Regions from separate parts of the Homo sapiens genome. Here regions 2, 3 and 4 are each linked to region 1. Evidence: promoter capture Hi-C in 16 types of primary human blood cells and fetal thymus (Javierre and others, 2016). All regions are on one chromosome and are shown on one strand. The core of a region is centred on a gene start or on the middle of the fragment in contact, and the rest is flanking DNA. Distances in the headings are between cores, read along the strand shown.

What was found. The method cuts DNA at HindIII sites, captures the fragments that hold promoters and counts their contacts. A CHiCAGO score of 5 or more calls a contact.
Region 2: a contact is called between a fragment that was not itself captured here and the fragment with the promoter of ERI3 in region 1, in 1 of 17 cell types (megakaryocytes). The highest score is 5.7, in megakaryocytes.
Region 3: a fragment that was not itself captured here is called in contact with the fragment with the promoter of ERI3 in region 1 in 2 of 17 cell types (megakaryocytes and erythroblasts); the score reaches 7.1 in megakaryocytes.
Region 4: a contact is called between a fragment that was not itself captured here and the fragment with the promoter of ERI3 in region 1, in 6 of 17 cell types (neutrophils, M0 macrophages, M2 macrophages and 3 more). The highest score is 6.7, in neutrophils.

Annotation. Positions count from the first base shown.
Region 1 is chr1:44,352,013-44,359,620 of GRCh38, reverse strand. It overlaps ERI3 (ERI1 exoribonuclease family member 3), which reads left to right and starts at 4,364. Exons shown (of 9, transcript NM_024066.3): 1 at 4,364-4,729; 2 at 6,696-6,771. The coding sequence starts at 4,595. RefSeq lists enhancers at 4,080-4,129, 4,030-4,530 and a silencer at 4,400-4,629. The HindIII fragment of the contact is 14,792 bases long and covers 1-7,608 here.
Region 2 is chr1:44,681,422-44,689,029 of GRCh38, reverse strand. The region is part of intron 1 of ARMH1 (armadillo like helical domain containing 1); the gene reads right to left. LOC105378690 (a long non-coding RNA gene) reads left to right here. Exons shown (of 5, transcript XR_007066059.1): 5 at 436-716. Among named protein-coding and RNA genes, the nearest start is that of ARMH1, 11 kb to the right of the region's middle. The HindIII fragment of the contact is 270 bases long and covers 3,721-3,990 here.
Region 3 is chr1:44,649,011-44,656,618 of GRCh38, reverse strand. RNF220 (ring finger protein 220) reads right to left here. Exons shown (of 15, transcript NM_018150.4): 13 at 6,850-6,958; 14 at 6,662-6,736; 15 at 4,896-5,915. The coding sequence ends at 5,844. It overlaps TMEM53 (transmembrane protein 53), which reads left to right. Exons shown (of 3, transcript NM_024587.4): 3 at 1,410-3,372. The coding sequence ends at 2,060. It overlaps LOC107984950 (a long non-coding RNA gene), which reads left to right and starts at 6,953. Exons shown (of 2, transcript XR_001738031.2): 1 at 6,953-7,608. RefSeq lists an enhancer at 5,754-6,335. The HindIII fragment of the contact is 824 bases long and covers 3,732-4,555 here.
Region 4 is chr1:44,622,828-44,630,435 of GRCh38, reverse strand. It overlaps RNF220 (ring finger protein 220), which reads right to left. Exons shown (of 15, transcript NM_018150.4): 5 at 4,038-4,139. Among named protein-coding and RNA genes, the nearest start is that of SNORD145, 44 kb to the left of the region's middle. The HindIII fragment of the contact is 3,508 bases long and covers 2,664-6,171 here.

The DNA.
Region 1 (7,608 bases), core at 3,115-5,614:
CCTGGGCAGGTGGCTCCATTTGATTTCCGATTTAAAGGGGAGGCTTAGATAGCTAAGAAGAAAAAGGCTAATAAGAAAAATATTAAACTGCAGTGTGTGTGTCCCCAGGGACTTCCTGTTGCCATGACTGACCTCCCGGAGAGCGCCATTCGTTCCCAAGCATGGCAGCTTTATAGGCACTTGTAGGCCTGCAAAGAACACCAATTTGCTGCTGCAGTTTGTTTTGATAACTGAAACTTTCAATAAATCTATATTAAAATCAAAGGGAAAATTAACTAGGCCCTAGTGAGGGGCACGGAGATAAGGGAGCACATTACCACCCTGGCCTCTGCCACCCCACATCCATCTCTTAGTTCAGATTCAGGTCACCAGGGAGATGAATGGCTCAAGCTCTTGGGGAACAGCTCTGGGGAAAAGCAGGAAGAAGGCGGCATGGCCAGATCCAGCCCTGACTCCTCCCGGAGTGGCAGAAGACTGCTAGGGGGTTGGGTTGGGGAGAAGAGGAGGTGGGGTGGTGGTGGTCATGGTGGGAAGAGGGGCAGGAGAAAGGGGTAGGGGAAGGGTGAGAATAATAGTAATAGCCACTGTTTACTGAACTCTTTATTCTAGATAGTGCTAAGCAGTTGTATATTTAATTCCAATAACAAGTAGATACAAGTATTATCTACATTCTAGAGATGAAGAAACTGAACTTCAGAGAGGTATGTGACTTGCCTAAGGTCACAGATGGAGCCAGGACTCAAACCTGAACAGGTTCTCTCTGAGCCCACCCTCCTATGCTGTTTTACATAGCTTACAGGGACTACGACAGCAGTAGCAGGTCTTCCAGTTGCCACATAAAACGGTTTCAGACCCAGTCTGGGTTCTCTCAGCTGTGCCAAGGTTTGCGGGCTGCCATGTATTATCCTTGGGTCCTGCACTCTCTGCGCTTTGACAGCTGGTTAAGGTCCTAGCTTTGATGACCACCTTGCTGCATTTCCTGGTGGTTTGACAGGGTATAAGAAGACCTAACTGACCAGGCGTGGTGGCTCATGCCTGTAATCCCAGCACTTTGGGAGGCCAAGGCGGGTGGATCACCTGAGATCGATAGTTTGAGACCAACCTGACCAACATGGAGAAACCCTGTCTCTACTAAAAATACAAAAATTAGCCAGGCCTGGTGGTGCATGCCTGTAATCCCAGCTACTCGGGAGGCTGAAGCAGGAGAATTGCTTGAACCCAGGAGGCGGAGGTTGCGGTGAGTTGAAATTGCGCCATTGCACTCCAGCCTGGGCAACAAGAGTGAAACTCCATCTCAAAAAGAAAAAAAAAAAAAAAGGCTTAACTTGGTCCTCTCTTTTGTTCTTGCTCTCAGTGTTCACTTTAGCTCAGTCGCTCAATCCAGCAGCTAGGGTGTCTGTGTGTCTGTGTATTGAACTCAGTTCATCTGCCTCCCCAAATTCACTTGCCCTTGCCTCATCTGCATCCCCGACTCTGGCCATTGGCCACTTATTTATTGCACAGCTCAACTGCCACTCCCACCTCATTTACTAACACCTCTGGTTGTCTTTGTTTCCCTTGGGATGATGGCTAGGTTTTGACACAGCCTCCAATGTGCCCACTGTGGCGGGACTGCAGTGGACCTAATCTGACCCAACCAGAGGCTTTGATTCCTCTCACCATTTCTAGTCTCAAATGAATGACTGTGCTTCCAGGTGTGGAATCTGGCACCCCCTGTGGCTACGGCAGTGGTGGGGTAACATAACCCTTCCTTCTCCCTGTCACACAGGATGGTTCTACACACCTTGTACGACAGAGCAACTAGTTGTATTTTCTTTGAGGCACTGGCCAACTTCTCAGTAAGACACTATCTTGTACGTTCTTTCCCTCCTTCCCTGCTTCACTTCCCCCCTTCCCCCACTCTTTTATTTATTTGTTTATTTAAGTCACGGAGTCTTGCCATGTTGCCCAGGCTAGCCTTGAACTCCTGACTTCAAGCGATCCTCCTGCCTCAGTCTTCTGCCTCCTGAGTAGCTGCGACTACTACATGCGTCACCATACCCGGCTCCCCTCACTCTTGATGCCTTGGGATTGAACTCCCCAATTAAATTTGAGCACATAAGTTTTGCCTCAGGCTCCGTTTCCTTTTTTTTCTTTTATAGAGATGGAATCTTGCTATGTTGACCAGTCTGGTCATGAACCCCCGGGCTCAAGCAATCCTTCCACCTTGGCCTGCCAAAGTGTTGGGATTACAGGCATGAGCCACTGTGCCCGGCCCAGGCTCTGTTTTCTAGGGAACCAGATAGCACACAACAGAGCCATGGCTTGAGAAAGCCAAGTGCTGTGTTAGGCGGCAGTGTAAGATACCAAGTGTATACTGAGCTGTTAAACTGTTCTATTATTTGAATCAATTTGCCTGGTCTTTGTACAAAAAGAACTTACAGTGTGGTGAAGTCCTGGAAGCTGTACAGTTGAGCCCTAGTGCACCAAGGAGGAAAGAACACATTCTGGGGAAGTCAAGGGGACCATGGAAGGCTCCACAGAGGATGTTGGGGCTGGGCATTACATAAAGCCTTGAATCCAGATACTATAGATTTACTTCATTCTTACAGCCAAGAAGATTGGCTGTGCCCTACTCTCAGGCCATAACTCAGTATATAACAAAGCTATCTCACTGCCTCTTGTCTTATTTTTATATTTACTTGTTTTATTATCTATTCTTCCTCCTACAGCCCCTCCCCAATTTATTTATTATGGCTCACTGCAGCTTTGTCCTCCCAGGCTCCAGTGATCCTCCCACCTCAGCCTCCTGAGTACCTGGGACTACAAGCACGTGCCACCATGCCTGCCTAATTTTTAACTTGTTTGTAGAGATGAGAATCTCATTATGTTGCCCAAGCTGGTCTTGAACTCCTGGTCTCAAAGGATCCTCCTGCCTCAGACTCCCAAAGTGTTAGAATTACAGACGTGAGCCACGACACCCAGCTTCCCTCTCCAATTTAAAAGCTCCTTGAGAATAGAGGTGTGTCGTTATTCATCAATGAATCCTCAGCAACAGAAACAGTGCCTGACACTTAAGAGAGGCACTATAAATACAGATGGACTGACTGACCAACTGGGGTTAATGTGTAGGTAATAATAGGAGAATCTGTTCCAGCTCCAAGAGTTGGGGGATAGTGCCTCCACTTTACTGACCTCGGGATAAGTCTGTCCCTGCTGCTGGATATTCCCTCATTTGTTCGCAGACATTTATTGCGGGCCTTCTTTATACCTGCCCTATGCGGTGTATTACTGATACAACATGAACAATATGGAAAAAATGCTTTTCCTAAAGGACTTAAAACCCTGTGGGAGCGACAACAAGGAAACAGACAATTATAAGACAATATGATAAATGCTATAGGTCCACAGCAGAATCACCTAACCTATGACGTGGGTGGGATTAAGGAAGGCATTCCCTGATATGGGGATTACCAGGCACTCTCAGCTCAGGTGGAAACCGTTATGGTAAGGTCCGCTCTCAGAGGTGGTAGGGCCCAGAAATGACATCATCCTAAGTGTAAGTATGCAGACAGCACACAGAGGGGCTTGGTAACTGAAGCTGGGCCCAGAGGATGGGGTCCTGACCGATTGGGAAGCTGTCAAAGCCATCATTCCCAGCTCATAACCTGGGACCCATGACTACCCAGAAAGGCATAACCAGGATGAAGAAACACAGGTCTCTCCAGCTTACTGGAGAGACTGACTGGGGAAGCTCCTCACAGCTGAGGCCAGAAACCTTTTAAACAGAAGTTTCCTCTGAGTGGACCTGAACAAGCCAGTTCCCTCTTCCTTAGGACGGCCCTTCACAAATCTAAGCATTTTCCTCTTAGCTTAATCCCTCCTTGTCTCAGGTCTCCCCCAGGCCCACATCCGAAAGTAGATGACAATAATTACTTGTTGAATGAACGAATCATGAGGAGTCATGTAAATAGAATTCTGTCACGTTGTGAGCCCACATTCACCTTACGGGTATATTGGAGGGCGGGAAAACGGAGATGGGGGGCTCCACTAATGTGTGTCTGTGATCCTGGTTAGATCGCTGTAGGCCATAGAAAGTTTCATTTTAAAAAAATTCCTTTCACAGATCAGAAGTGATGTCCCCGTCCCCGTCTTCTCTTCTGAGTTTGTGCAACGTCAAAACTACAAGTCCCATAAGGCCGGCGGCCGGGAGTCACCATCTTGACATACCTTAGCGCGCATGTCGGCGGGAGAGCGAGCGTTTGGGGAGAAGAAGCCCCGCCTGACTGCAGCCCATTGGTCAAAGGGGTCGGCAGCGGGCTCAGCGGTTGGCCACAGCGCCCGCCCGTCCGCCGCGTCGGTCGGGGTCAGAGTGCGCGGAGGTGAGTCGGTGTGTTGTGGACTCGTGGTGCTGGCTGCCGCTGTTCAGGCGGCCGGGAACGGGCGGTGGGGAGCGGGCGGAGCTGGCCCTGCCTCTGCCTGGCCGGCGCCGCAGTCGGCGCGGGCCGCGCCCGCCGCCGCCAACTGCCCTGAGCGCTTGCTGAGGCCGAGGGAGACGTCGGGGCCTGCACCTGGAGGGAGCCTGCCGCGCTGGCCCCGAGGAGGGGGCGTTGCCATGGCGACAGCCTCTCCCGCTGCTGACGGGGGGCGGGGGCGGCCCTGGGAAGGAGGGCTGGTCTCCTGGCCCCCCGCCCCTCCCCTTACTCTCCCCTGGACTTGGATGGGCCCGAGTTGGGGGCAACACCCCGGGGTGGGTGATGCTGAATGGCCCCGCCAAGATTGGGCCCTGGTTAATGCATGCGGGGTGAGGGTCGCGGTGCGCAGAATTTATGCAACCTGGGGTGCTGGCCCATGTGCTTACCCTGGATGCTTACTTAATCTACTGAGTAATGTTCTGGCGGAGGGGGAGCGGGGCAGAGCTTTGCAAGACAGGATGGGTGAGTTTATTAAGGGGGTTGACTTACTGGGATTACTAGAGAAGAAAAAGGTTTGACTAGAGAGGCTAGAAATGGAGCATGGAGATTGTGGGTAGAACATTCCCTTGACCCTCTCGCCAACACATGCCCACACACCAGGTTAGCAGTTTACCTCTTTGTAAATCTGAAGCGGTGGTAGTAGTGATGGTGGAAGGAGTGAATAAGGGCCTAACCTGGCTAGCTTTCTGTTTGCCTGTCTTGCAAATGGTCCAGCAACAGGTGTTTTCTTAAAAAAAGCATGAACTTGGATTGAGGCTTGACTGCGAGTTCTTGCAAAATATAACTGCTCCTTGTTGACTTGGAAGATGCTGGATGTGGGGCCCCTCAATGGGGGTTTGGATTTTGTCCTTAGAGCTGGATTTTGCAACAAATAGTGCCCATCGTTGTGTCTGCGAGAGGTCTCTGGCCACTTCAATGGCATTTACTCTTGTCAGACATTTAATCAGTCTCCCAGCGGAAGGGCAGCAAAACATGAATCCTATTGGCTAAAAGAGTGTACGCTATTCAAACTATAGTAGGTTGTGAGTGGCTAAATGAGTTTTGATTGTAGAGTTTCTTCCAGAAATTGGCTTCATCAAATTCTGCTTTATTCTGACTTTATCATATACAGCATGCCTTGTTTTAGTGGGTTCTTGCTTGGAGCTTAGTTTATTATACCTGAATCTCCTACCATTTAAAAGCCAATTTATAAACAGGGACTTGGAGTGTGACTCCACTAATGTGTGTCTGTGATCCTGGTTAGAAACCCACTTGGCTGCCTTTTCCTCAGGAGGTGGGGGTTGGGGGAAGGGAGCTGCCGGGAAGTGATTGATAAGGTTTCCTTTATAGATTCTGTGGTGCTTCACTGGAGCTCAGAGCACTTTGGCAACTTAAGCACTCCAAATTAAAAGCTCATTAACAATTCCTGCCCAAAGATCCTGTAAATAATCAGCTAGCTAGGTCATAGAGCTTGGCTAAGAGCTTTTCTTCCAACTTGAAATTTCCAAATAAAAGTGCTTTTATTCCCTTTCATTTTAAAAAGTGTTTTCTTTGTGGTGGGGTAAATTGGTGAGTGGCCTTTTCCCAGGGGATCTGAGTAGAAGAAAGTCTTAAATGTGTGGAATGGTAGACAGGAATATATTAGTTCCAACCCTAGGTGTTTCTTTATGCAAAAGACATCACTAACAGGGGCATCTCTGCAACTTCTGGTCCTTTGGAGGATATGAATTAGTTGAAAAGGATGATAGGTATCTATTGATGTTTTGACTTGGGATTTAGTTACCTTGACTTTCTTAGAGCTTGAAGCAGGCTTGGAACTATCCTGAAAGTGTTTCCTAGTCTATGTGGCCATTTTCAGTATGGCTTGTGGATTTGTGGCAACCAACCCCTACCCCAGTCCTGGCCCAGCCTTAGTTCCTTAGTTCTGAATATTGTCAGCCTTACCAGTGTCTTCCTCCTTGACTAGACTAGGATTCTGAAACTACCCAGAGGCACCACTTCATAGCTATCTTTCTCGGTAAATGTTTAGTGTTTCTAGGAGGTGAGCCTCCTTAGGAGCAAAAGTATATGACTAGAGAACATGAAAATCATTACAAATGTAGTACTAATAGTTTCTGAAAGCTCTGTGGGGGCACTGTCTTTGCACATAGATAGCAGTTATCCCGAAGTTTGAGTTTAGAGTTTGAGGTGTAGTATCCTTCATGGGGATTTGATCCTTGGTATTGAAATAGACTTGTTGCAGAGATGTGTATTTATCCACAGCATTGGGGCTTTCCAGCTCTCACAGAACCTTCAGCATCCCCAGCTGCCGGTCTTGGCATCTTCGAAGTAAGGAGAGGTGAGAATCCTGTTGCATGGTCAAGTCTGGCTTTATTTTCTTCTGAGTATTTGGGCTTGGAGGGTAGGGGGTGGGGGCTGATGCAGATTGTATTTTTTTTCCCATGTATCCCCAAAGTCTAAACGAATCATATTTTTTTGTAGCTTCTTCTGATAAAGTAACATATGCTCAAAGTCTGTAGAAACTTACTTAAAGTTTCTAAAGTGGTAAGAGTTGGAGGTGGGAGATCCAGACTGTCAAGTTCTGTCACAACTGCTTTATGGGCATCTCATGAGCACCTACTTTAGGTTCAGGATGGTTGAATAGAACCAGAATAGCCCATTATCCTGAGAAATACACATCTTAAGAAAATAGGAAGAAACATCTTCATTTGGCTTTAAACATTTATCTATCTATCTATCTATCTATCTATCTATCTATCTATCTATCTATCTATCTATCTATGAGACCTTGCTAGGTTGCCCATGCTGGGCTCGAACTCCTGGGTTCAAGTGATCTCCTGCCCACAAGTAGCTGGAGCTACAGGCATGTGCCACTACACCTGGCTCTCGTTTGGCTTTTGCTAATGTATTTGACCAAGGCCTTTGGGATCTTGGTTTAATTTAGGTTGCATGTCACCTTTTGGTGGGTGGTTAGTTCCAACCTGTCTGTTTTACAAGGATCAGGGACCAGCTAAAGAGGCATACTCTGGATGATTGATATCCAGGGACTCGAGCTTGTTTGTTCAATAGCTAAGGGCCAGGCACTGTGCTAGTTCCTGGGATTGTAGTGGTGAACAAGAAAGCCACCTTCCCTGACACCATAGAGCTTACAAATTCATGGGAGAGACTGATAGTA
Region 2 (7,608 bases), core at 2,606-5,105, 330 kb before region 1:
TCTCTTGTGGCTTACTTCATACAGGGTCAGAGGCTTGAGGTCTTGAGAGACATGGCCTCCCTCTTATGCCAATCACCTAAGTTAAAGTGCTCCTTAACCTTGTACCTCGGGCTTTTACACTAACTCTTAAAAACAACTTAAAAAAAAGTTAGTGGGAAGAAAATGTTCCCATTCCATAGTTGGATTAATGGGCTGTGGTTTGTAGGAGTCTGTGTCCTTGGGAGAGTATTTTCAGTGGGGGGAGGGAAGGTTTAAGATAAACCTGTTTTCCAAAAATAGTTGTGATTGAAAGTGTTATTATCCATAACAAATGTTAGTGCTGATGGGAGAGAGGCATGTGTGATTCTTTTGTCTAACAGACAAGTGAAAGTCATATTTCACATTATCATGGAGTTTTCTGTGATTTACAGAATATTTGTGAAACATTACTTGCAGGGGCCATGATTGATATGGAGAGAACAGCTTGTGTGTAGGAGAGATGTGTATTTCACGAAGACTGTTCAACATGAAATTTACAGTCCCATAAAGTGCTTCTACATCTTCGCCAGAGATCTAGTTAAAAGGACTTTACAGTCTGAAACATCCTAAAATTGATTCTAAATTAACATTTCCTCACATGTATTTGAGATATTGATGGGGCCCAGCTATCAGAATTTTATTAGGAAGCAATAATCTGAGGCATGCGGAGACAGACATACATACACACCAACCTCTACTACTCCCCAGAGGACATGGGATGCGTGCTTCCAGAAGGGCGTCCACGCAGCCTCCAGGATGGAGATAACCACGAAATCTAGCTGGCCTTAAGAACCAGGTGAATGACTGCGGACCAACCTGAACACAAAAATGACCAAACCCCCTCATGGGATCCTGCATCAATCACTGTGAATGCCATTGCAGTCATAAATCTGAGAATAACCTAGGGAGGCTGTGGCTGCCTTCAGTTGCCAAACTGACATCAAGAAAATGGGGGTGAATGGCTGTTCTAGACCCCAGGGAGGTGGGGTTGAGACACCACCACTAGCTTTATCAGGCAGGAAAGCACCGTGTGCCCTTGCCCTGCCTTAAATGGACCCTTTCTAGTATCAAAACTCAATGTGCCATTAGAGATGCACCCAGCGATTCCAGGACGCCAAAGGCAGGGACCTCTAAGCAGGGCACATTACGGCTCCTCAATGTTTCCTTGGACCTCAGTCTCCCCTATCTTCTTTGAAGACAGGAAAAGAAGCATCAACAAACATCAGCTTTAAACGTCACTGTGATGCAGCTGTAAATCTTATGTATGTGGTGAAGGCCCATCCTGTGGCTCTGTATAAGGTACCGTGGGAGATGCAAAGATGAATACGATGCTGCAGGGCGCTGGAGGAGTTCCTACTCTTGGGGGAGAGTGGAAGAACATGAGATCTGGAGTCAGACTGGGTTCAAGGCTCAGCTCCGCCACTTGCTATTTTGAAAAAAATCAAATAGTAATAGCACCTGCCTCACCTCTTGCTGCCCTCCAGTTTCTCCTCACAGAGGAGGCTACTTTAAACTCTTTTGGCTATTTTTTCTGCTGTTTACCCCTGTATTTCCAAATAACGAGCTTATACTACTTGTTATGGGCTGAACTGTGTTTTCCCCAAATTCCTATGTTGAAGTCCTAACCATCAGTAACTCGGGATGTGGCTGTAAATGCAGATACAGTCTTTAAAGAGGAAATTAGGTTTAAACTATGTCATTAGGGTGGGCCTTTATCCAATATGATTGGTGTCCTTATAAGAAGAGGTGACTAGGATACAGACATACACAGAGAGAAAACCAGGTGAAGACACAGGGAAAACATGGTCATCTGCAAGCCAAGGAGAGAGGCCTCAGAGGAAATCAACCCTGTGACACTGTAATCTCAGCCTTCCAGCCTCCAGAACTGTGAGATGATGAATTTCTGTCATTTAAGTTATCTAGTCTATAACACTTTGTTATGGCAGCTCTAGCAAACTAATACACTGCTATCATTCGATGTATCAACCTTAGGCAATATTTATGTATTTATCATTCTGGCAGGTGAGGAATTAGGTCTTCATTTTTTTTTTTTTTTTTCTGAAATGAGGTCTCACTATGTTGCCCGGCCTGCAGTGCAGTGGCTATTCACAGGTACGATCATAGTAAACTGCAGCCTTAAACTCCTGGCCTCAAGCAGTCCTCCTGCCTCAGCCTCCTGAGTAGCTGGGGCTACAGGCGCATGCCACCTTGCCCAGTGGAGGAATCAGTTTTATTGCACCACTCTAACTCCCATTTTTTTTCTTTCTATCCTCCAACATTATTTCCCATACTTTAGAGTTAAATCAATAGTGTTTACATTATTATTATTATTTTTTGAGATGCAGTCTCACTCTGTTGCCTAGGCTGGAGTGCAGTGGTGTGATCTTGGCTCACTGCAGCCTCTGCCTCCCAGGTTCCTGCGATTCTCCTACCTCAGCCTCCTGAGTAGCTGGGATTACAGGCATGTGCCACCACACCTGGCTAATTTTTATATTTTTAGTAGAGATGGGGTTTTGCTGTGCTGGCCAGGCTTGTCTCAAACTCCTGAGCTCAAGTGATCTGCCTGCCTCAGCCTCCCAAAGTGCTGGGATTACAGGCGTGAGCCACTGTGCCCGGCAGGTTAACATGACTGATCAAGTAAATAAACTCTTCAAGTAGCAAACTACTATTACATTTTTTTCTTACAGTTTGGTTTTACCTGGAGTTAATAATTGTCATTTTTTTCCTATTGTTTGGTTTGAAGTACCAAGGGCTATTTCATTCCAAATGTCCCAAATATGTAGTGATTATTTTTCCAAATGTTCAATCTGTAACTGATTAATTCCATCTTTTCCCTGGAAACCTCTGTCCCACAGATCTCTTTCTACTATAGTTTAGACTGGTTGCTCACTAAGGCCAGTATGCAAATGTTGTCCTGGGATTTCCTCTTGCCGAGTTTTTCTGACGGATGCCCATTTCCTGTCTCTCACATCTTCTTCCTTCTTTGTGTACTCCCTTGTTTTGTCCTGGAAAGTCTAAAAATATTGTTTTTGACCACATGTTGGATTGGCTGGGTATATAACTCCGCGTTAGAAATAAGCTATCTGGGCCGGGCGCGGTGGCTCACGCCTGTAATCCTAGCACTTTGGGAGGCCGAGGCAGGCAGATCACGAGGTCAAGAGATCAAGACCATCCTGGCCAACATGGTGAAACCCCGTCTCTACTAAAAATACAAAAATTAGCTGGGCGTGGTGGCGCGTGCCTGTAGTCCCAGCTACTCAGGAGGCTGAGGCAGGAGAATCACTTGAACCCAGGATGTGGAGGTTGCAGTGAGCCGAGATTGTGCCACTGCACTCCAGCCTGGTGACAGAGTGAGACTCTGTCTCAAAAAAAAAAAAGAAAAAAAAAGAAATAAGCTATCTGGCCAGGTATGGTGGCTCATGCCTATAATCCCAGTATGTTGGGAGGCTGAGGCAGGAGGATCACTTGAGCCCAGGAGTTTGAGACCAGCCTGGGCAACACAGTGAGACCTCCATCCCCTCACCCCCAAATTAGCCAGGTATAGTGACACACACTTGTAGTTTCAGCTACTTGGGAGGCTAAGGTGGCTGAGGTGGGAAGATCGAATGAGACCAGGTCGGGGCTGCAGTGATCTATGATCCCGCCACTGCACTCCAGCCTGGGCAACACAGCAAGACCCTGTCTCGAAAAAAAAAAAAAGCTTCCCTCAGATTCACCCTCCCCAGTTGCTGTTACTGATGAGAAATCTGAAGTCATTCTGATTCCTGTGCCTTTGTCTATTTTTTTCACTCCTGATGATTTTGAAACCTTTCTGAAGTTGTATAATGATATGCTTTGGTGAAGGTCTTTTTTAATTTACTATAGTAGGCCCTTGGTGGGCTCTTTAAATCACTGTATCCTTCAGTGTTTGGATATTTATTAGGCAACTAGTCTTCTCACTGGGGAATTCATAAATGTCAGTCAGTGGAAGCTTGTTTGTTTTTTTTTAACACCCTCATAGAGATATCAGGGTCTCTGGAGAAGACTTTCCTACTTTCCCAGGGAGGGTGAGAGAGCAGGGGTGCTATTACAGACACCTCGCCATGGCATGTTGGGAGTCAGGTGGGGGAAGGGCTCACACAATGCTGTGTGTAGACCTTCCCTCTACTCATCAGTTTTCAACTCTATGTCTCATTCCTGCCCTTCAAGCCCTGCCTGAGGTCCCTGTGCAAGGAGGCCTACAGAGTCCAACTTCCTTCCTCTTCATGCAGCAAGAAAGTTTAGAGTCATTTCTTTCTTGGCGGTTGAGGGTCTGGAGTGCAGGCAAGTGCTCTGCACACAGAGGTCAGTGAATCCCCCTAGGTTGGGCTCCATACCTCATTTCTGACCTTCAGTGGTAATTTGTGCTTTCAAGCATTAAGCCTCTTAGAGGTCAAACTGGCTGAATTGACTGGTTTCTTGTTGGTAAGCTCCCCTTGTTGGCAGTTGCTTGCAATTTCCTCTGCTTCAAGCCGGTTAGCCTCCCTGCACCTGCCTTCTGCCTTCCAAATATTTGTTGAATTCTTTCATCTCCTGTTGCCTCCTTCCATGAACTTTTGTGACTGAATGCTTTTTTATATTTCTTCAGCGGGGTTATGTCACTAAGGTTTTTCAGAAGTAGGGGGAGATAAAAGACATTAAGTATATTTAATTAAGAGCCTCCAGTCATGTATTATTTATCTCAACCTTTCTTTAATAGTAAGCTTGATGAGGGTAAAAAAAGACCCATTAACTACCATTTTTAAAAATAATTAATAAGATGAAAACAGTGGAAAAAAGACCAAAATGTGTCAATTTCAAGAGTCAGTTGCTGGGATAAATTGTATCTAAGCTTGTTGACCGCTAAGGAAAAAGTGATGTTAGCTGTGTTTCCTGGTGAAGGCAGAAGGAATGAAGGCAGGGAGAAGAAACTGACATTTTTTGAGTGTTGATTAAGAGCTATCCACACACCATACGCACACACACTCACACACTCTCTCTCTCTCTCTGTGGTTGTTTTTGTTTATAGAGATGGGGTCTCTCTGTGTTGCCTAGGCTGATCTCAAACTCCTGGCCTCAAGCTATCTTCCCACCTTGGCCTCCCAAAGTGCTGGAATTACAGGTGTGAGCCACCGCACCCTGCCTAAATTCTTTGTTTTAATCCTCTTAAGATCCTCAGGAGGTCATCATTATCCACAACTTTCAGATGAAGAAACTAAGGTTTAGAAGGGTTTGCTCATTTATTGAAGGTCTCAAATAGGGATGGGAATGGGATTTGAACTTAGATCTGCATATAACTCCAAAGTCCAGGTTTTTCCCCACTAAGCCAAGGGCATGGATCCTGTTCTCCTCTGTGCTCCAAGGTGTCACCAATAATCTCCTGTTGTCAGATTTAGTGGTTTAGCTCACCGTCCCAGCGTGCTTGGTCTCTCTGATGGATTGTGAATGACTCTTTTCCTAACCCCAGAATCCCCTGGTTCTACTCCAGACTCTCTGAATCCTCAGTTGCCATTGCAGGATAGTGCCTTTGCAGGTCGTTTTCCCGTTCTTAGTTCTCTTCTCATGCTTTGTAATCCCTGGGTGACCTCATTCACCCCATCACTTCAAATTACATTTATAGGCGCACGACTCTCAAATCCGTCTCCTCAGTCTGGGCCTCCCACCTGAGCTCCAGATCTCTTTATGTACTTAAGTGACCGGCAGACTCTTCACTGGTATGTGTCACAGGCTCCTCAAGTCAACAGGTCCCAAACTGAACTCATCAACTCACACCTGCCCCTTGCCCTGTGTTGGTCCTATTTCAGTGCTTGGGTCACCACCCTCCTAGTCAGCCAAAAGTTGTCTTTGACTTATTCCTCTCCCTTGCCCTCATCTGAACTGTTGCCAGCTCCTGCCAATTACATGTCCTAAATTTCCCTGAGATCAGTCTGTCTGTCTTCACCTCCACTGCCGCTATTTCAGTTTCACACCCTTGTTCCGCATATGGATTACTGCAACAGCCTCCACTGGTCTTCGGGCTTGCCCCAGCCTAAACTCCACAGTGATGTGAGATTTTTTATTTTTATTTTTATTTTTGAGACAGGGCCTTGCTCTGTCACCCAGGCTGGAGTGCAGTGGCACAATCATAACTTACCGCAGCCTCAATCGCCTGGGCTCGAGTGATCCTCCCACCTCAGCCTCCTGAGTAGCTGGGACTACAGGTGCATGCCACCATGCCCACCTAATTTTTATTTTTATATTTGTTTATTTTTTGTAGAGGTGGGGTCTTGCTTCGTTGCCCAGGCTGGTGTCAAACTCCTGGGCTCAAGCAATCCTCCTGCCTCGGCCTCCCAAAGTACTGGGATTACAGGTGTGAGCCACCAGGCCAGGCTTTGATGTGAGATTTTTAAAAGTACAAATCTGACAGATTTCACTGCTTCAAACTCTTCAGTGGTTCCTTACTACCTGAGGATAAAGCTTCAAACATTTCAGGCCAAAGAATTTCCATCTAAATTCGGCCCCAGGTGAAACCTGACACCCCACCCCACCCCTTGCCTCAACCCATGCTGCTGCTGCTTCTAAATCAGGAAGGGGGCTGCCCACTATCCTACACCTCAAACACCATTCTCTAAATCCCTACTACTGTTCCTGAACCCTTCCTCCTCCTCTGAGGTCAGGCCATCTGTCTTTCCCTCTCTACCTTGCCGCAGTGCCGATCAATGACTTTGACACGTAAGCCTTCCTGTTTACTCAAGAGCCACTAGGCAATTTCAACATCAGTGTGCTCCATCTTTGTAATTTGGGTGGCTAGCAGGGTCTCTGGTAAAACACAGGCACTCAATAAGTGTTATTTAAACTGACATCCAACACACTGTGCTCAGAATGTGCACTTTAATTTCCTTAGCTCTGCACATTAGTTAATTAAACAGATTCCCAGGTGCCAACTCTGAGCCGAGCACTGGGCTTGGGATTGGTTAACGTGACAAACATAGACCTTGCCCTCGGGTGCTTACAGACTGGCAGGGCAGAGAGACAAGCAAAAAGGTGATTTTAATGAACAGTGGAGAGCGCTCTGATGGGATATATCCCAGGTTCTGTTGGCGCACAGAGAAGAGACATGGAATGCAGACTCCAGCGACCTCCCGCTTTCACCTCCAACCAACACAGCTTTCATACCCAAAACCCACACCCCAAATCTGTGACTGGCTAGCACCATCCCACCTATGAAGTCTACAATTCCAAGCTCCTTACCTTCCCACCTCTTCCATCTATTCTCAGAAGGCCTACTTTTGGGTTTAACAAAGAAAGTTATAGGCCATTAGGTAAGAATGTCGTCATACTCCTCTTCTTTCTTCATCTCTATCCACATCCATCCTTCTCCTCTCCTTCTCTAGCCATCTACCAGAGCTCTGCCTCCATCCACCCCGCCTTCTCAGGGCCCTCATTCTACTCATTACTCCTGCCTCCCTTGTATCCTTAACCCCTCTATTTAGGCATTTTTCTTGTTAGCCTTGATTTTTACCTATCTTTATTATTATTTATTTATCAGTGTATTTATTCGAGATAGGGGCTCACTCTTGTCACTCAGGCTGGAGTGCACAGCACCGTCATAGC
Region 3 (7,608 bases), core at 2,894-5,393, 300 kb before region 1:
CTAGGAGTGTGTGATTCCAGATGCTGCCAGGGAGAAACATACAGTGGGGACTGAAAGGCCTCTGTCAGATTTGAGCATTTGGGAGAATGTGGGTGGCCTTAAGCAGCCTCCTCTTCAGAGTCTTGGGAGGGATGCTTAGGCACTCCAGGGCTAGGAGGTCAGGCGGCTGATGGCAAGGTACCTCTGCTGACCATCCCTGTTTAGCCATGGGTCATTTAACTACTGTGGCCATACGATTTTCTCCTTGTCACTACCACATCACTAATTACTGCTGCTGTTGGTTGAGAGTTTACTTTGTGTCAGGTACTGCTTTGATCATTTGAGATACATTTTTTTTCATCTAATTTTACCCATAACCTTATGAGGTGGGTGTTATCCCAATTTCACCGTAATCTTATAGATGGGGACCCAGACTCAGAAAGTAGTAAGCTGCTCCTTGTTCTTACTATTGATACATAGTGGTGCCAGGAGTTGAACCCGGACCTGTCTGACCCCAGCACTCTCCAAAGTCACATTCCCCTGACAAAGGGCCCTTTGTCTCTGAACAGGAGGATGAGAGGGGATTAGGAGCCAGGCATGGTGGCTTTTCTAACTGACCTAGAAGGGGACCTGTGTGGAGATTGTGGCACCCTTGGCCCAAGCGTGAGGAATATAGAAACCTAGAGGGAGTTTGGGCCCAGATTATAGAATTCGAGGAACAAGTGTTTACTGTATTTGGAATTTCAGGGCAGATATGAGGAGTGATCCCAGGCCGGGGAACCAGGGACATTTGAGTGTCAGGTCCCTGAGTCCAGAGAGTATGGACTCTGTTTTTAGGAGCCTGGGAGAGAGGGAAGGTGACAGTGACCAGTGATGAAAGTGATGTGGGCCTGGCTCAGAAGTGGCCTCTGGTGGTCAGGGCTGGCGCCTGCAGGCCAGCTCTCGGGTACTGGTCTCATGGGGGTACTACTTCTGTCTGGGAGGTAGGGACAGTGCAGATCTGAGGTGCTGGGACAGGGTATAGCCAAGCAGTGAGGCCCCATCCCAAATGTGCAAGGCCTAGGATGGGAGTGCGGGGCACAGACAGGAGGGAACCAGAGTAAAGAGACTTCCTCTGGTCAGCCCAGGTGTCTCCAGTATATGCTTCAGGCTCTGGGCCTCAAATACCACTCCAGGCCAAGAGGGCTTGGCCAGCATGAAGCAATTAGTCCAAAAATGGGCCTTAAGTATACCTTCCCTGCCCAGAAGGCACCTGTGTCTGTGGGCAGCGGGCTGGTGGGCTCAGGCTGAAGCAGGACCCAGAGCATTGCTGACGCTGTGGGCCCCATGGCCTATGTCCTACAGGCTGGGGTTGCTGGGCCCCTCTGACCTTAGCTTGTACCCACTACCCCCACCTCATCTGTGAGGACTGACCAGGCCTCTCTCCCCAGGGCTGCATCGTAATCCGATACACAGCCCCGTGGCACATGGTCTTCTTCTCCGAGTCACTGGGTATCCCTTCACTTCGTGTTTTGGCCCAGAAGCTGCTCGAGCTGCTCTTTGATTATGAGATTGAGAAGGAGCCCCTGCTCTTCCATGTCTTCAGCAACGGTGGCGTCATGCTGTACCGCTACGTGCTGGAGCTCCTGCAGACCCGTCGCTTCTGCCGCCTGCGTGTGGTGGGCACCATCTTTGACAGCGCTCCTGGTGACAGCAACCTGGTAGGGGCTCTGCGGGCCCTGGCAGCCATCCTGGAGCGCCGGGCCGCCATGCTGCGCCTGTTGCTGCTGGTGGCCTTTGCCCTGGTGGTCGTCCTGTTCCACGTCCTGCTTGCTCCCATCACAGCCCTCTTCCACACCCACTTCTATGACAGGCTACAGGACGCGGGCTCTCGCTGGCCCGAGCTCTACCTCTACTCGAGGGCTGACGAAGTAGTCCTGGCCAGAGACATAGAACGCATGGTGGAGGCACGCCTGGCACGCCGGGTCCTGGCGCGTTCTGTGGATTTCGTGTCATCTGCACACGTCAGCCACCTCCGTGACTACCCTACTTACTACACAAGCCTCTGTGTCGACTTCATGCGCAACTGCGTCCGCTGCTGAGGCCATTGCTCCATCTCACCTCTGCTCCAGAAATAAATGCCTGACACCTCCCCACAACCTGCAATCTGTCGGGCACTCTTCTCGTTCAACTCCCTGTAGCCCTTTGGGACTTTGCGGTCCCCTAAGTAGAAAATTCCTATGGGCCTGTCTCCTGGGGGCCTCTGTCTGCTGGTGGTCTGCTTACCACAGAATCCTAAGGGGCAGGAGTGCCTGGGCATGTGTCTGTGGGAGCCTTGCAGTCAGTTGTGTTTGGACAAGTGCAACAGTCAGGCTGCTGATTCCTGTGGCATGCAGGCTGTAGAGGTTGACAAATGGAGGGGGGTGTTGAGGGTGAGCCCTAGTTGATTTTTTAAAATTTAAACTCTGGTAAGAACATTTAATATGAGACCTACTCTCTTTTTTTCTTTACTTATTTATTTATCTATTTATTTCAAGACAGGGTCTCACTCTGTCACCTAGGCTGGGGTGCAATGGTGCAATCATGGCTCACTGCAGCCTCAACCTCCCAGGCTCAAGTGATCCTCCCACCTCAGCCTCCCAAAGTGCTAGGATTACAGGCATGAGTCACCGCGCCTGGCCAAGATCACCTAACAAAATTGTAAGTGTGTACGATACTTAAAATTTAAGAGATTATGTGCACGGCAGACCTCTAGAACTGAATAGTCTTGCATCTTGCATAATTCAGAACTTCATCATCTTGCATAACTGAAACTTTGTGCCTGTTACCAGAGTTGAGTTTTGATTCCTTGAATGGAAGGTGACCTTTGTGGGGAGATGCCAGAGGGAAGGTATATCGGTCAGGGGTAGCGTCAGGCTGCGGATAGGGGCTATGATCTTTGCTCCAGCAGGGCGAAGCCCTACAGTGTAAAGTACCATTCACATGGCTCCCACTTGGCAGTTCACTCAGAGAGGCTCCTCTGACCCCATTGCCTGGGAGTCTGAGGTAGAAGCCAGATGAGGAGCTGAGGTTAGGGGCCTGCCTGGCTCTACCACACTTTGCTAGGAAGCCGCTGGGTCTGGGAAAGTTGCAAGCTGAAAGTTGCCAGAGACAGTGGGGGGCAGGAAGGCAGCAGCATTGTAACAGGAGCTGGGATGAGCTAACTCCCAAGCCCTAAAGACCAGAACCAGGGTAAGGGGATTTGGGCTGAAATAGCAAACTCCTTCATCTTCTGGAAGGGAGACCCACTTAGATACTCTCTAGGCAGAAGAGGTGAATTCAGCCTGATAGTTCAGTATCATTGATCATTCTAGAAGTCACTACTGCACAATGTTGGCATATAGTAGGTATTCAATAAATATTTGATTGAATGAGCTTACCGTGGTGATCACGGGGCTTAGGGGGCAGTGAAGGAGATGGCTAGAAAAGCTCTGGATGGGAGCTGACTCTTGGGGATGATGGATCCTTTGTCCCCAGAGCCGCGTTCTGTCTGCATCCCATCAGTCCTTGGTGAGTCCCCACTATGGTGGCAGGGATTCCCATGCTGTGTGGCTGCATTCCTAGCCATGGCCAACAGGTGGCAGTGCAGCCTGTGCCATGAGACAGCTCAAGGCTCCCACAGCAGGGCGGGCTTCAGTGGAATGCCCTCACTCTGGGTTAATGGCCCCTTTTAGAGACCATATGGCCCCCAGGGTGGCAGTAACCAGCCATCAAGGACCTACTGAGTCCAAGCTTGTGGGAGGGGAGACTAAAGACATCAAAGAAGTCGGCCTGACAGGAACTGGGCATTAAGAGCCTCCTCTTCATCTCTCCGTTGCCCTCACCTACCCACTCTTCTCTTCCAAACCTGTTTCTTTCCCAAACCCTCAGCCATCGCTGGAGCTGTTCCACCCGCCTCGACAGAGGCTGTGTACATCCCCAGGATCCCTGTGTTCAGGATATTGGGTGCCATCAAACTGGGCGTGGAGCTGTGAAGGGCCTTTGCTGGGCTCCAAGGGGGACTTGTCTGTGCTTCATCTGGGTGCAAAGGGTGGCAGGAGCTGCCAACTGGACCCAATTCTGAGGAATTCACTGTGGGTATCCCAGAGAAAATGGGCAACTAAGGCTGGGGATTTGGGCAGATGGGCCTGGTGTGCAAGGTGTCAAAGCAAGTCTGGAGTCATGGGGCTACTCTGGGGCCTTGACTGTTTTTCTCCAAACAGCTTTCTGTTGTGGGTGAAGACTTACATGTAACTTTTAGCACCTGCCTGGGAGGCATCTAGGAAGCTGAGCTACCTCACTGGCAGTGGGGAGCTGTGGGGGTCAAAGTGCCATCTCTCCAGCCTTGGTTCTCTGAGCACATGGGAGACTTGAAGGTCCATCCTGGATAATAGGGTTTCCATTCTTTCCATTTGAGAATCTAGGCAGTAGCTACACTGGGATGATGGTCACTAGAGATACATTTGGAGAATAGAACAAAAGCCTGGGAGGCTGATAGGGTGATCCCACTGTGGTCTCTGGTATGTTTCAGGGGACCAGAAAGGGATAGAGGCCTGGGGCTTGTGTTTGTACCCAAGCTTGTGGCCACTCCTAGCCTAGGTTGGGGGATAGAGCTTGCATCCCCTCTGTACCCCCAAGCTCTGACCTCTTCTGTGATTAATGAGCTGACGATTCTGCATCGATAAAGAATTAACCTAGAGCCCCTACCCATCAATAGTCAGGAGCCCAGATCCCCAGCCCCACCCCCCTCCAAACCAAATGCTCCACGGCCCCAGAGCAGACCAACCCTGCACAGTGTCATACACCTATAGCTAAGTCCTTTCCCCCATCCTGCCACCAGGAATTAACCCCTTAACTGCCTCAGCCCACCTCCCCTAGTTAGCTCCCCCACCACCCCACACACATAACACACAGGCAGCAACTGTTTATACTGGTTTAATCCATGTCAAATGTAGTTTACAAAGGGAAAGGACAAGTACCTTTGTATAGAATATACAGACACAGCATCACACCACAGGGCCCACGGGAGGGTCGGGGAGACGACACTTTTTCCCTGGGAAAGGCAGCTCTAATCCCAGGAATGGTTCTCAGCAGAGGCTGGGTGGCCAGGAGCACTGTCCTCTAGCCCCCTAACTCAGCCTCTGCTTCAGCTCGGTTCCCATTTCCTGCCTCTACCCCCCAACTCCTTATAAAGAGCCCCATGAGCTAAGACTAAGGAGAGGATCATGTCCCTTGGGGCGTGTGCCCCATGTCTGGGAGAAGAAATATACACCACTGAACACCGAGCACATGGGAGAGGGAAGGGACACCACAGGAGAGAGAGAGGCAGGTACCCCAAGAGGTGGATGGGCCGAGCTCCCAGCCAACCCTGAAGGAGGCGCTGCTTCCAGGGGTTCTTAAAAAAGAAGAAAATCATACAACCAAAGGGGGAGGGGACAGGTAGAGGGCGAGGAGTTGTCCCATTTATACACAACATTGTAAACATACACGGTCTATATTACATGTGCTTCAGTCTGGTGTTTGCATGTCTGTCTGTCCGTCTGTCAGTATGGGGGCTGGATCTTAGGAGCCGTGCCCCACTACTCCCCCAACCCCCACCTCCCTGCCCCACCCTGGGAACAGAGCTGGAACAGGTATGGCCCCCAAACCATAGGTGGGAGCCAGCAGGTAGTGCCTGGGCCACAGCCTCTACTCTGGCTCCAGAGTCCTGCGTGTGTAAATGTGTGTGTGTGTACGCATGTTTGAGTATGTGCATGTATGTACATGGGGAACCTGTGTGCAAGTATGTACAAAGGGAGACGGTCACTGTCACAGAGGCTGGGGGCAGGTGGGGCTGCTGGAGGCGAGGCCTGCCTGGGGCAGATAGCTCACAAGTAGATCCTCCGCAGGTCTCCGGGCGCTGTGATCGTGTTGCACTGAGGGCAGAGCTTCTTGGCACCCTGCAGGGAGAACAGGGAGGGCTCTGGTCTACACAATGAGCCATGTGTGCGCATGTGAGCACCTGGGCCTGCAGCCATGTCTCTCTGCACCAGTGTGTGCTGAGACCTTGGTCCTGTCAGCCCAGGCTGGGGACGCATAGGCAGCTTCTGTGAGCAGGCAGGCACGCTCCTGTGTTGGGGGGACGCCAGGATCAAACCGCCTGGCCAGCCCCGCAGCAGGAGCCCCAGTAATGAGAACAAGGCTGGGTCCAGCTGTGGCAGCCGCAGCCCTAACGAGATTACACGCGGCCTTTGATCAGGACACAGAGCCCACGTCCGAGCCTTTTATTACTGTCTCCGGGCGACATTTTAATGGCTGCTCCTGAGCGAAGAACAGGGGCAGGAGCAGAAGGAGCTTAGTAATGGGAGGGGGAGGGGCCAAGGCCCTGGTCCTGTTTACCTACAGCCAGCCTCCTCCTGACCCCAGGCCTCACCAGTCTGTGTGATGCAGTGGGCCTTCGGGGACCGGGGCGGGGAAGGGAGAATGCAGTGAACTCATGGAGGGGGAGAAGTTCCTAAACCTGCAGTTGGGGAGGAGAGGCAGCGAGCCTGGGGGTAAATATCCTGCGGGTAAATATCCTGGCTCCTGGCTCTGTTCTCCTTTGCGCCATGCTCCCCACTTCCCCCAGGCAGGCTCAGGCATAAGCACAGACATCTGGGCAGTGCCCGGAGCGGCCTCCCATTCCCCGACCCCCATGCCACCTCACCAGGGTCCGCAGCCAGCACTCCTCGCAGTGCACGTGCCAACACTGGATGGACGTTAGGGGCATCGAGTACGAGTCCTAGGGAGGAGGGGGCAGAGAAGGGGTCACTCTGAGGTAGGCCCACCCTCTCCAACTCCCCCAGAGGGCGTGGAAGCCTGACCAAGGGCACCCCTAGGTTCTTTTCTACTCACCATGCAGATGAGGCATTTGTAACGGTCCCCACGAGATAGCTGCCGTTCAAGTTCTCTGACCCGAGCCTTCAGAGCCTCAAACGTGGTCACAGCTGAATCTTCGGTGATTCTGTAAAAAGGAAGGCATGGTTGGGTAGCAGGCTGGCATCTCTCATCTGTACCTCCAGCCTACGCCTCCCTTGAATTCCAGAACCAAATACATAAATGTCCCCTAGGCATCCCTGCCTGCCCCCTTTCTCTGATAACCTGAATCTGCAAATTCCACATTCCAGAACTAAACTCCTCACCCTCTCTATTCCTCCATTCCCATTCGGATGAATTTCTACACCAGATACCAGGGAACCATTTTCAACCACTCCTTCGCAGTCTTCCCAACCACCCAAATCTGTCATCTCTCCTAGTATCTCCGGCATCTCTCCTCACCACCATGAGTCCAGGCTCTCAGATGTCTTCCACCAATTCCACCACTAACTTTTTCCAGACAGCCTTTCTGCCTCCAGGCCCCTCATCTCTATTCCACTCTCCCAGCGCCTAGAGGAATTTATGTTCTCAAAGCAAATCTCTCGTGGTGTGACTTCCAACATTCCAATGTCCCCCTTGGAGTAGAGAGCTCCACTACACTCCTTGGTCCAGCCCCAGCCCGCCGTACCCCTGAGGACCTTGCCACGCATTTTATGCTCGACTCCTATGTGTCACCATCCACGCCACCTTTTTCACTGCCTTGGCCTCTGCACTGTGATCCCTCTGCACCCCCTCGCC
Region 4 (7,608 bases), core at 3,168-5,667, 270 kb before region 1:
ATTTAGGGCCAGACAGACTCAAGTTCAAGTCCTAATTCTGTTACTTACAATTTATGTGTTCTTAGAAGAGTCACCTCTTTCTAGGCCTGTTTCCTTGGTAATAGACTGGGCATGATGAATACAGTTGCTATGAGGTTTAAGTGAGGTAATGATAAAGAGGGTTAGTTAGTCAGCAGGGGCTAAGTAAATGAGAATTCAAACCAGAAACCAAGGCTCATGCCTTTAATCTTAGCACTTTGGAAAGCCAATGCAGGAGGATTGCTTGAGCCCAGGAGTTCAAGACCAGCCTGGGCAATATAGTGAGACCCTGTCTCTATGAAAAACAAAAACAAAACCCCAGAAACCAATACCCCCTGGTTTCAAGGCCTAGCTCAGTGACTTTAAAAATCCGACATAGCTGAACAACTACTACATGCCAGGCCTTGTGTAAAGAGCAAGGGATGGGATACCCAGCTAGTCTCTGGGTTGCTTTCCAGCTTCACCTACTAACTTTCCTTGCATTCTACTTTCTAACAAAAGCAAACTGCTAGCAGGTCCCCAGATACATCATTCTGTTACACCTCTATGTTCTCTACATAGTGTTGTCTTTATATCTGGAGTAACCTTTCTTCCTTGTCTGCCAAGTGAACTTCTGTTCCTTCTCTGAGTCCGTTTTCAGTCATTACCTCCTGTGTGAAGCTTACTCTGATTTTCTCCTCCTTCTACTGTAGTATCCTAGAAACGTATTCTTTATTATTAATTTTTTTTATTTTATATTTTTAGTAGAGACAGGGTTTTGCCATGTTGCCCAGGCTGGTCTTGAACTCCTGGCCTCAAGCAGTCCACTTGCGTTGGCCTCCCAAAGTGCTGAGATTACAGGCATGAGCCACTGTGCCTGGCCCCTAGAAACTTATTTATACTCCTGTCATAGCACTCAAGACACTGGACCATAATTGTCTATCTGCAAATCTAACCCCTTGAAGGCAAGGACACTAAGCTGAACATGAGTCAGTACTAAATAAATGTTTGAGTAAAGGAAGGATAAGACAAGGTCCTTGCCTTGGAGAAACTCCAAGTCTAGTGGAGTCAGATTCATTGTGAAAGATTAAATATGGCCAGAATTATTTGCATCTTCTCCTATCAAGAGCTGCCTTTCCTCATCACTCGATTATGGGCTAGCTTTGTGACTTGCTTTGCTTAATAGAAAGTGGTGGAAGTGATGTGTGAGTTCCAGATTCTAGGCCTCAACAGGCCTTGCGGCTTTGGCATTTACCCTCTTGGTGTGACACTGCCCTGAGACTGCTAAGTAAGAAAGCTGATTGAACATACTGGAGGATGAGAGGCCACATGGAAGAGAGCCAAGACACCCAATCTCCCAAACATGCGGTGAGGCCATTTTAGACTTTCCAGCCCAGCCAGTCCTCCAGGATGAATGAGCTGCATGAGTGAGGAAATGCCCAGTCAACCACAGCATCATAAATAATGAGTTGTGTTAAGCCACTAAGTTTTGGGATGGTTTGTAGATAACGGAAACATACCTGAACAGGTGATCACAATGTAGGGTGACGGGGCAATAACCAGGACACACAAGGGTCAAGAGATAGCTAATCCAGAAAGACTTCCTGGAGGAGATGATATTTGGGCAGGATTTGGAAGGATAAATAGAAATTTGATGTAGTGGGGTAAAACAGTTCTGTTAGAAGAAATAGCATGTGAAAAGACATAGAGGCAAGAAAGGAATGCCTCATCCAGGGAGTGTTTAGCATTAGTTCAGTGAGCATAGCCCATAGGATTCATGGACAGTATTTGGAATGGAAGCTGGAAATATAGGTTGAATCTATATCACAGAAGGCCTCGCTGCCATGATAAGGAGCTTCAGCTTTATCTTGTAGGACACAACCTAGTTTGATTTGCCCTTTCGGAGGTGTGCTTAGAGTCTAGAACAGGGTCTTGGGTCTTAACCTGGGCTTCAGAGATCTCCAAGTGGTATTGGGATGGGATCTAGAGCTTTCCTAACCTCCTGAAGTTGTATGTATAACACTGCATGTGTGTGTGCCTGTGTGTATGTAAAAACACATGCGTATGTTTTTAGGCAAGAGAGTCCATAGCTTTCCTCATAGTCTCTAGGAGATAAAAGAAATACTGACATTTGTGGGGAGGAAGGTGGGTCAGGGAGTTGAGGCATTGTTGCCTGATGGTTACTCTTTCCTAGTTGAACAGATGGCAAGGCGCATGCCGTGAGTGCAGTACAGAGGACAGGCCTCTGAAGGTGGGGCTGTCTATTCCTCTGGACCAGAATGCTCTGGAACAAAGCCTTGTCTCTGTTCCCTATCAGATCAGAATTCCCTGGGGTCTGGTCATTTCTCTGCCTTGAACCAGGGTTGTCTGGATCGGGGCAGTGTCTCCCAGGGGCTTATTGGGCTTCCTTTCTGAAACTGGGGTTCCCTTAGAGAGAGCAGGGATCCCTTCCCAGGGCTTGCACTTTGGGCTATGCAGTTTGAGTCCCATGCAAAGGCATTCGGCGGAGTCTGTCCAGCCGTGCTGGGCACTCTACTCTCCAAGCTCTGCACCCTGTGCCAGGCCAGGCTGTGTCAGCTGGAAGGAAGGGGTGCAGAGAACACCTTTCTTTAATTCCCACAAAGGGTCAGGTGTGCCAGCAGGGCCCCTGGTTCTCTACCCAAGCTTACAGGTCCCTGCAGCCCTGTCTTTCTGTATCAGATCAGGGCTGTTCTTCCCTTCTCACACTGGGCCTCCCTGCGAAGCCCTGTTGCCATTTGGACAAATGTTCCTTGGAATAGGGCACTGTTCTCTTTCATCTAACGGCTCTGGGGTTCTTAAAGACAGGGCTCTGCCTCTCCTTAGACAAAAGTTTTGGGGGAAGTTCTTTGTCCTTCCTACTCCAGAGAAGGTCCGTTTATAGCTAAGATGCTACCCTTAGGCCCCTCTGCTATGATATTGTAGGACTGTGTGATGACTCCCTTCCTATTTGCCCAAGACACTCACAGGCAGTGTGTGCCTGTCTCTCTATCTGGGCCTGATACCAAGGTTTGGCAGAATTGAATGGTTATTTGCTTAAGGTATCACGCTTTTTTTTTTTTTTTTTTTTTTTTTTGAGACGGAGTCTTGCTCTGTCACCCAGGCTGGAGTACAATGGCGTGGTCTCAGCTCACTGCAACCTCTGCCTCCCGGGTTCAAGTGATTCTCCTGCCTCAGCCTCCGGAGTAGCTGGGATTACAGGCGCCCGCCACCATGCCTGGCTAATTTTTGTATTTTTAGTAGAGATGGGGTTTCACCATGTTGGCCAGGCTGGTCTCCAATTGCTGACCTCGTGATCCGCCCGCCTCGGCCTCTCAAAGTGCTGGGATTACAGGCATGAGCCACCACGCCTAGCCTTTTTTTTTTTTTTTTTTTTTTTTTTTTTGAGATGGAGTCTCACTCTGTCGCCAGGCTGGAGTGCCGTGGTGCAATCTTGGCTCACTGCAACCTCCATCTTCTGGGTTCAAGCGATTCTCCTGCCTCAGCCTCCCAAGTAGCTGGGACTACAGGCACACGCTACCATGCCCAGCTAATTTTTGTATTTTCAGCAGAGATGGGGTCTCACCATGTTGGCCAGGATGGTCTTGATCTCTTGACCTCGTGATCTGCCTGCCTCGGCCTCCCAAAGTGCTGAGATTACAGGCATGAGCCACTGCACCCGGCCGGTATCATGCTTTTGAAGTCTGAAATCTTCAGGTGATTCTGGGCTATGTATCTGGGTCTCTTATGAAACCAAACCCCATAGGATACTTCCTGATGGATAGAATGATTCAGAGGTGCTCAGAGCCCATGGAGCCCATGTGACCTTGGCATCTCTCCCTAAAATCCATCTATTTAAGGCCTATTCCCTGACACGTATGCCTCCTGAGTTCACTTAGGGGCACGGGACACAGGGGGAACCAAACCCAGTTCAGGCCTCTCCTGTGGCCTACAGAGGAGAGGAGGAGTTAGCACCGGGCAGGCTCTTGAAGCCCTCCCCCAGGTGAGCTTGCTTCTCATGGCCACTCACCACCCCTCCTCACCTGGTATCTGTCTGAATGGTGGAGGTCATCGGTGGCAGATGAGTGGGGTGATGCCGTTGGAGACTCTCCTTCCCTCTTGATGGAAGCAGACAACAGGAGGGACTGGAAGAAGAAAAAAGACATGTGGCCTCAGGCCAAATGAGACCTACAGTCAGTCCCTAGAGTTCCCAGTCCTGTGGTGCTTTGGGGAGCCAGGCAAAGAGAAGGAGGCTGAGGGATAGAAAGACCACTCTTGAGATTCTAAAGGCATGGGGTCAAGTCCTGGGAGTGTGGTTGTGGGAGAGCATGGCTTGGTTTTAGGGATGGGTAGAGACCCCTTGAGGGACCCTGCTTAGGCTAATCTCTGTCCCAGTGGAGTGAGACTCCCAGTCCACTCCGAGTAGGCTGAGACTATATATGTTTTGTTTTCCCTTGGAGAGCAGAGACTCTGGGATCCCCATGAAGGGTTGTGGGTAAAGCCATATACCCGCTACCCCGCCTGCCCTTAATACAGGCTGATGGCAGCCCCACAATGGAGACAGTAAATTAAATAGCATGTGAGTTTCCCACGTGCAGCTAGGGATGTATGTGGGTCCATTTATCCCGGTGCTACGGTGATGACCCCAGCAAAAACCCCAGCAAAACTAATCCCCCCATGTCAATCTTGTATGGCCTCTTCTACATACGCCTGCAGTTTAGATTAATAAACTGTCTGCTTGAAATTGTGTGCAATCACCACAATTCTAAATACCACATGGCACATTCTGCCTGAGAGCCCGCTCTTGCCAAGGCCTGTTCAGCTGCAAACTGGGTGCCTGGAGGCCTGAAAGCAATCCATACTTCCTCCCCCCACCTTCTCCAGCCTGTACAGCTCTGAGCCGGAAGCACACAGTTCCCTAGGAGTCTTCCCCAGCTTAGAAAACCATGCCAAATCGCCAGTGACAGCCCAAAGAAAGCAATTTGGGAAAGATGGAGCAGCCATTTATCCTTCATCTCCGGCTGAGCCTTAGGATGTGACCCGCATGCGGTGGCCATGCTGCACATCCTCAGGCAAGGGCCCTGGAAAGGGAAGGGACAGCTGCTGGTCTGGCAGGGCTCCCTGACTTGCCCATACCCCAGGAGCTGGAGGAGAGAAGAGGCTGGAAAGGGCCTGCATGGGATTCTCTGCAACGTGGAGCTCCTTCTTCACCCATCCAAGCCCAGTGGGAGGCCTCATGGGTGACCCAGCCCTCAGCTCAGAAAGGAGGTGCTCTCAGGCAATGTTCTTCTCCTTCTCTGGTCCCAAGGAAGATGCTAACGAGGGGGAACAGTGTGGGTCACCCCGACCTCCGGCCCATGAAAAAGCTCCTGTTTGTGCGCTTTCTCTCTCTCTCTCTCTCTCTCTCTCTCTCTCATTCTCTCTAGGTTAGAAGCCCTGAGAGGCCTCGGCATTACACCTGGGGCAAGCGGAATAAAAAAAGGTCACTGGTGCTTTTTAAACATGGACCAAAAAGCAGTAAAATGTGTTTTGAAAAAAAATCCCGGCATTAAATCATGACTTTTTGCCTGGCTCTTCGCCTCATTAAAAGTGGCCTTTTGGAAGGTAAAATTATCATTGTAAGCGATAAGATCTTTAAGAAAATAATTCACGGCTTCTTCACCCTTTAATATGATAGCCGCCACCGGCTAATTTTTTTCTTAATGGCAACGAGGCCATCAATCTTGTCTAAGGCCCCCTCGCCCTCTCCTCCTCCTCCCTCCCTCCTTCTCCCTGTCCTTTCAGTCTCTTGCTTGAACCTTCTCTCTCTCGCCTCTTCCACTCACGACCTGCTTCCCTAAAGCCTAGGTCAAGGCAGAGGATAGACCCTGAACTATTCAGCTTTGGGGGTGTGGGCATATATCTGGAAGTGGGTGAGCAAGTGTCCCTTATCTCTGTGTCTCATGGTCAGTATGCCTGTGTCTGTGGTTTCAGGACACATGTTTTAAGACTTCCTATGTCTGTATTCTGACCTGAGTGTGTGTGTGGGTCTGTATATGTGGGGAGCTAGGGACGGAGGTAGACTGTGTCTGCCAGGGGTTTGTCCTTAGAACACAGGCCTCACTGATGTCCAAGTCCCCAGCCCTGCCAGCCATGCTCAGGTGTCAGCTGTCACCTGTGGTGGCCGACTTGGAAGCTTGTCTCTGACTTTCCTGAACCACACCATTAAATGCTGCAGGCTGGGCCACACTCAGTGAGTGTAGCTCGCTACCTCTGTGAGTCTGCAGCTGCCTGGCACCCCCAGCCTCCCCTTTCTCTTTGGGGCTTTGACTCCTTGGCCAAGGCCTATACCCACCCAAGGCAGGGCTAGGTGCTCTGCTCCTCCTCTCCCAGCTTGCTGCAGGTGAGCAGTTTTCTAAACGAAGGTACACGATCCATTCCTATACCTTTGAAAGGCTTGCAGGGTATTTGGGTCTACCCCATGGAAGTGATACTTGTCACTCTGGCTCCTTTCCCAAAACTGCCCTCTTAGAGGTCACCAGTCACTGCCAGACTTCTAAATACAACGGGCCCCTTCTCCAGTCTTTCCCTGTTTGACTGCTGACCACCTGATACATTTAGAAACTTTCTTCCTTAGGATCCTGAGATACCATGCTCTCCTGTGCCCCTCTTAACTCACTGAGTGTTCCTCCTCTGTCTCCTTCCCTGCCTCCTGGACCTTATCTTGACACCAAGTGCAGGAGTCCCTCAGATTCTCACCTTGGCCTTTGCTCTAATCTCTCCAAACACTCTCCTTCACTGATTCCACCCATTCCCAAATCTTCCATAGTCATTCCTCACTCCCTATAAAATGGGCTAGGGGTGGCCTCCTGTTCTGAATAATTATGGGAAAAAGGATGCAGTCTTCTACCGAGGAATGGGGAAGGGGATACTCAGTGAGTGAGGGTTTGGTTCTCCCCATGTATCCATCCCCTCAAAACCACCTTTGGGTAAGTAGTACCCACTGTGTCCATGGCCATCTTTGAGGAGTTCTTGATACAAATGTCATTGTGCTAAGGCCTCTTGGCCCCTCCTTTGAGCCAGATATTTGCTCTTCACTTTCCCTTTCTCCAACTGATGCTTTCAAGTCTTTCTCCCACAGGGTTTGTTCAGAGAGGCAGACTAGCTCCCCAAAAGAGTCCAGCCTCTTCCTTGGCTCCTTGTTCCCCTCAGGACAAAGTACACACAAACACACACACACGCACACACCTGCACATTCATACACCCCTGTGCCCCCATAGTCTGGCTTCTAGGGCCCTGCACTATCTTGACCTGCATTTCTTTATTTTTCTTCATCTGCTATAGCTCACTTTCTTCCTTTGAGTCTTCTCACCCTTAGTGTCTGGGTCACCCACATCTCCCAGGCCATTCTTGGCTCTGACCCCTCTCCTGGCTGGAAGAGGAGGAAGTCAGATGAGCATACTCTCACTCATGCACAGACCACACACACTTACACACACACACGGCGCAGCCCTAGGCCTCAGGATGATGTTCAAGACCTGGAGATAGTTGAGGATATTAGAAAAGCTGGAGATAGTTGAGGATACTAGAAAAGCTCCTTTTTCTCAGGAGGAACCAGTTCTGGGTAGGCCTAGG